Regions from separate parts of the Homo sapiens genome. Here region 2 is linked to region 1. The links are contacts of gene promoters, found by promoter capture Hi-C in human tissues and cell types (Jung and others, 2019). All regions are on one chromosome and are shown on one strand. Each heading gives the region's core, a stretch centred on a gene start or on the middle of the fragment in contact. The rest is flanking DNA. Distances are from core to core; before and after follow the strand shown.

Region 1 (3,187 bases), core at 329-2,828:
CCTCCCAAAGTGCTGGGATTACAGGCATAAGCCACCGTGCCCGGCTGTTTTTGTTTTTTTCTTTTTCAAGACATGGTCTCATTCTGGTACCCAGGCTGGAGTGCAGTGTTGAGGTCATGGTTCACTGCCGCCTCAACTTCCCTGGCTCAAGCAATCCTCCCTGCCTCAGCCTTCTGAGTAGCTGGGACCACAGGTACCCACCACCATGCCGGGGTAATTTTTGTGTTTTTTGTAGAGATGGGGTTTTATCATGTTGCTCAGGCTAGTCTAGAACTCCTGGGCTCAAGCAATCTGCCCATCTTGGCCTCCCAAAGTGCTGGGATTACAGATGTGAGCCACCACGCCCGGCCTGCCACGGAGAGTTTTCAGGAGAGGGGTGATATAATTTGATTTAATAAAACAAACACAAATTCCCTTAGGCTATGTGTGGGAAACTGTTCTCAGGAGACAAGGTGACCATTAGCAGGCTACTGTGATTGTTTCTGATGAGACAATGGTGGCCTGGGTAGTTGTAGCTACCGAGTAGACAGATTTGACATTTTGGAGTTAGAGTTGACAGGGCTTACTGACAGATAGAATGTGGGGATCCAGGGAGGTGAAGAAAATGACCATTCAGTTCCTCCTAGTGCACCTGGAAGGATGGTTGGGCCATTTACTGAGATGGGCCAGAATGACAGGTACAGGTTTTTGGTGAAGGTGCATGTGTGGAAATGAAGAGTTCTGTATAAGTTAGAGATGGTCATCAGACACTCAAGAAGGGGTGTCAAGTAGGCAGCTGAGCTATGGCTCTGGTACTGCAGGGAGGGTCCAGCTGGAGATGTGAATCAGGAAGTCATTAACCTACAGGGCAGCACCCTCCAATAGAAATAGAGCGTGAACCTCTTAGGTGACTTAAAATTTCCCAGTAAGGACCGGACACGGTGGCTCATGCCTACAATCCCAGCACTTTGGGAGGCCAAGGTGGGAGGATGGCTTGCGCCTAGGTAGGAGTTTGAGACCAGCCTGGGCAACATGGGGAGACCGGTCTCTACAAAAAAATTAAAAAAATTTTAGCTGGGCGTGGTGGCGCCTGCCTGTAGTCCCAGCCACTTGGGAGTGTGAGGTGGGAGGATTGCTTTAGCATGGGAGGCGGAAGCTGCAGTGAGCCATGATCACACCATATTATTTTTCCCCCTGCTAGCCACATTGAAAAAGTAAAAAGAAACAACAGGTGAACTTAATTCAAATATTTCTACCACCATAGCTACAAATAAAAAAAACTAATTCAACAAATGTACTTATTTAATCCAATATATCCCAACAATTATTGCAGCACATAATCAATATAAACATTATATATATGAACTATTTGACACTATTTGACATTTCTTCTTCCACATCCAGTGTATCTGACATTTAGCGCACATTTGATTTGCACTCACCCACTTTGAGGAGCTCAATTGCCGCTTAAGTCCGTGGCTAGTGGCTGCCCTAAAGTTCAGCACCGCCACGGAGCTTTGGGTCCACCCGGACTGTAAAAAGGAAGCACTTCCGTTAGCATGACCCGGCCTGAAGTAGCGGCGGAACGGAAGTCGCTTGTGTATGAACGCAGCGGCGGACCTGTGAGGGGATCCGACTTGCCGGCAGAACTTACGCTGCGGGACCCCGGGCACTGTTGCTGCTGCGGGAGGTGAGCAGCGCGGCCGCCGGGGTGGGCTGCGCACCCGCTTTTGACTGGCGCCTGGGGCAGGAGGGGCCGCGGATCCCGGGAAGCGCACGGTGTTCAAGAGGGAGGATGGCACGGTGGTTATGGCGTGGGGCCTGGCGTCAGGCTGTAGGGGTTCGTACCCTAACCCCGCCGCCTAACCCCGTGTGACCTTGGACAGGTCACCTCCACTTCTTTCAAGGCTTCGCTTCGCCACCCGTGAAGTGGGGTTGACAGTACAGCCTGCCTCACAGGGTTGCTATGAGGGTTATAGGTAATAATTCGCGGAAAATGCTTTGCACCATGCCTAACGCATTGTAACCAGCCAATAAAATGTTTGGGATGTTGTACGCTGTTGTTCCAGCCTCATTGCCGACTGTCAGAATTAATTTCGAGCCTCCAGAGAGGCTTCTACATTGCGTTATGCAAAGCATTTTGCTTGTATTATTGCATTTGATCCTACGGTAGGCTTATGGAGATAGGTGCTATTATCCCCATCTAGAGGCTCCCAGAGTTTAAGACAGGTGCCTAAGGTTTAGCTGGCTTGGCAGCAGTGGGGTCAGATTCTGACTCCAGGGTCCATACTTTTTTTTTCTTGAGACGGGAGTCTTGCTCTGTCGCCCAGGCTGGAGTGCAGTGACGCGATCTCGGCTCACTGTAGCCCCTGCCCCGCGAGTTCCAGCGATTCTCCTGCCTCAGCCTCCTGGGTAGCTAGGATTACAGGCGCATACCACCACACCCGGCTAAGTTTTGTATTTTTAGTGGAGTTCATACTCTTAACCAGGATGCTCTAATACTCTCTGTGAAAGGGGGTGTGGGCTGTAAATGTGCAGTTAGTGAACGCTTACTGTATCTCAAGTTGGGTTTTTAATATCTTATTCTTAATAACACTTATGGGGTGGTAGGTGCTGCTTTTATCCTTATTTTACACATGTGGAATTGGCGGCTCAGAGACAGAAATTTGTCTTGCCAAAGGTCACACAGCAATTATGGAGTAGAAAGGGGCGATTTTAAAGTTCACACTTTAAGGCTGTTCTTCTCTGACTCTTGAAACTGGGTTGGCATTGCTCCTAAGTGCTAGTAGCAGATGTGGCAGGTCATCTCATTGGAAAGGTAATGGGCCACATCTGCTCTTTACACGTGTATAGCAGGGTTCCCCTAACCCTAGGTGGTAGAATGGTACCTGTCTGTGGCCTGTGAGGAACCGGGTTGCACAGCAGGAGGTGAGCAGCAAAGCTGGCATTACTGCCTGAGCTCTGCCTCCCGTCAGATTGGCCACGGAATTAGTTTCTCAGGAACACAAACCCTATTGTGAACTGCGTATATGCAAGGCATCTAGTTTGTGCATTCCATTTCCTTTTTTTTGAGACAAGTTCTCTCTCTCTCTGTTGCCCAGGCTGGAGTGTGGTGGCGCAATCTCAGCTCACTGCAATCTCTGCCTCCCTGGCTCAAGTGATCCTCCTACCTCAGCTTCCCAAGTTGCTGGGATTACAGGCACATACC
Region 2 (3,167 bases), core at 56-2,555, 160 kb before region 1:
TCTATGTGCCAGACAAATTTCCCCAATAACAACATCAGTCAGGAATTACACAAAATAGAGATTCAAAGAGAACAGTGGCTTGCTTGAGATTACAGAACTAGTAAATAATGGGTACACAGTTTGTGTAACTCCCAAACTCATGTTCTTTCCATAGAACATGGAAAGGAAGCCTAGATTCGAAGGCCTCAAAAACATGAATACAATGTATGGAAACAGTAAAAAGTGGCCAGGTGCAGTGGCTCATGCCTGCAATCCCAACACTTTGGGAAGCTGAGGCAGAAGGATCACTTGAGCCTAGAAGTTTAAGAGACTAGTCTGGGCAACACAGTGAGACCCATCTCTATTTCTTATATATAAGAAATAGCAAAAATCTAAAATAGGCATCACAAACTAACCAGGACTACAGAACACAGTACGTAGTTATATGCACATGAATTTATTGCATCACAAAACTACCCCAAACTCACAATTCAAGTCAGATTCATTGATGTTATTTATTTTATATGTAGCAAGAAAACAGAAGAAAACAGCATAGGAGCAAAATGTAAATGAAAAACTGTTAGATATATCTAAAACGAAGAGATGCTGTTAGTTTTGCTTCAACCTCTTTTAGTTATAATTTGCCTGCATATACTGAAATAAAATCTGACAATAGAAAAGAGCGTTTTATGAGCCATCTTTTTAATATGGCCTATTTGTATTATGCATACTAAAGGGGAAAAAAATTCCCTCTAAACATCACAGAACAATCCAACGTGGAAAACCTTACAGAAATATTTGTGGGACTACTTTTCTAGCTGTAGAATTCATATACTACATCTAATTATTAAGTAAACCTTGCATTCAAAAAAGCATGACATTCAAATATAAGGTTGGCAACAGAAAAATAGAAACATAAATAAAATGAAGCATTAAAATAAAACTGAGTAGAAAGGCTGAACTCTTGTATCAAATACCAAGAAACATTCATATCATCGTAATTTGAAAGAAGTAAAAAGCTTTGAAAGGCAGAGAATTGTGCACTTTAACCCCCAAAACTATATTAAAATGTACTTACCCCAAATGCCCAAATTATAAACAATCCAGATTCTTAAATACACCAAATTTATTTGAAATAGATATTCCAAAGCTCCTCTTTTTCTCCTCCTAATCTTCAAAGCTCAATCGGAGACCAGCCTTCCTCCTCCTTTCATTAGCTGGACATGTGTCAGCTCTCTCACATCTGCGATTTCTCACTGACTAGAGCTGCCTGTCCCATTCCAGGGAAACACAGATGGATCCCAGATGGGAAGGTCCTGCCAAACAGACCAGCTCTTCACCTTGCCAGAATCCCCAGATACAGTCAGTCTCTCTCTTTTTCTCCCTCCCTCCTGCTTCCTCTCTCTCCACTACCCTTCCAACCCTCCCTGTTACCAGGGCTCTTTGCCAGCTGATGTCACTAAGTACACACCTCCCAGTGGCTCCTGGCCAATCTGACATTAACTTGTTAAATACGTGTAATTTGTTTATGGCTGACAATAACAGCAAGGATATTGTGCAAAACCTATCTGTGCAAATCCCTAGTGGAATAACACGTAGAGACACACAGAGACACACAGACTCACATTTTTGGGAACATTCAAATGTTTAGCAATTACCATTTAAAGTCCTATATACTGTCTGGTTTCTGCTATTGTTTAATAGCTTCTGTTTTTTGAGCCAGTTTTTAAATCCTAATATAACAAATTCCTTCTTAAAATCAATTATTAAAAATATGTTTTGAACATATAATTGGATGAAAAATATAAAGTTGCAAATTAATTTGGGGAATATAAACAGAAATGTATGTAAATGATTCACACAAGCTGCCTCTCAGATCCAGACTTGGTAGCACTGCAAAACTGGCACGTGATTAAAATAAGACAATGCAGGCAACATGGTTCTGATGCTGTAAAGATTATAAATGGAAGATGGGGACACAATGCAAAATTGTTTTAAAACAGAGCAAATATAAATGTCAGAAATAACATAATATTTAACATTAAAATAACTGCTAATATAAGTGTCAACAATGAGTCGCCAAAATAAAAAATATTTTAAGAACAATAACAATGAAAATCCAGAGAGATGACAGAAACCCATAAGGTCAGAGTTTAATCCTTTATACCTCAAAGAGCTAGCATATAATAGCTGCTCAGTCAATTTCTGCTAAATAAAAATCGAAGGTTGACAACTGATACCATACTATAGTTACACAAAATGGTACCACTGGGGCAAATTGAGTGAAGGGTCCAACGGACCTCCCTGTACATTTTTCATTATAACTTCCTGTGAATCTACATTTTAAAATAAAAAGTTAAAAGATTGTGGGTGGTGGTAGCCAGGTGCAGTGACTCACACCTGTAATCCCAACACTTTGGGAGGCCAAGGTGGTCAGGTCGCTTGAGCTCAGGCGTTTGAGATCAGCCTGGGCAATTTTGGGAGGCCAAGGTGGTCAGGTCGCTTGAGCTCAGGCGTTTGAGATCAGCCTGGGCAACACAGTGAGACCCCATCTTTAAAAAAGAAAAGAAAAAGAAAGGCCAGGCACTGTGGCTCACACCAGTAATCCCAGCACTTTTGGAGGCCGAGGCAAGCGGATCACAAGCTCAAGAGATCAAGACCATCCTGGCCAACATGGTGAAACCCTGTCTCTACTAAAAACACAAAAATTAGCTGGGCGTGTTGGTACGCACCTGTAATCCCAGCTACTCGGGAGGCTGAGGCAGGAGAATTGCTTGAACCCGGGAGGTGGAGGTTGCAGTGAGCTGAGATCATGCCACTGCACTCCAGCCTGGTGACAGAGCGAGACTCCGTCTCAAAAAAAAAGCAAAAGCAAAAGCAAAAAAAGATGGCCAGGGGAAGGCGGGGGTCTTGGCTTCTTCCTGGGTCACATTACATGACACATATCCTATACTAAAATCTACATGAATACAGATTCGGCATGAAAGATCCCCTGCATATATATATATATAGTCAAACAGGTGTGGTTATAATTCTCTAACCCTTAACCTTCTACCATACTTGGGATATATCTGCAATCTGTAAACAATATTTCTGTCATGGCAATTTTTGACAAATAGGAAGGAAGGCTATTTCTGTCAAGGGCAACTTAATTACTAGGTTTTAGGGCTTCATTTCATACCAGTGAT

The links. The method cuts DNA at HindIII sites, captures the fragments that hold promoters and counts their contacts. A contact is called where the count stands out against the background at its distance.
Region 2: a fragment that was not itself captured here is called in contact with the fragment with the promoter of CDK5RAP1 in region 1 in 1 of the 25 tissues and cell types used here (bladder).

What each region holds. Positions count from the first base shown.
Region 1 is chr20:33,399,910-33,403,096 of GRCh38, reverse strand. It overlaps CDK5RAP1 (CDK5RAP1 mitochondrial tRNA methylthiotransferase), which reads left to right and starts at 1,578. Exons shown (of 14, transcript NM_016408.4): 1 at 1,578-1,669. It overlaps LOC124904889 (a long non-coding RNA gene), which reads right to left and starts at 1,515. Exons shown (of 2, transcript XR_007067567.1): 1 at 1,422-1,515. RefSeq lists enhancers at 1,438-1,637, 1,778-1,867. The HindIII fragment of the contact is 17,720 bases long and covers 1-3,187 here.
Region 2 is chr20:33,560,565-33,563,731 of GRCh38, reverse strand. The region is part of intron 1 of CBFA2T2 (CBFA2/RUNX1 partner transcriptional co-repressor 2); the gene reads right to left. Among named protein-coding and RNA genes, the nearest start is that of CBFA2T2, 72 kb to the right of the region's middle. RefSeq lists an enhancer at 1,275-1,569. The HindIII fragment of the contact is 6,939 bases long and covers 1-3,167 here.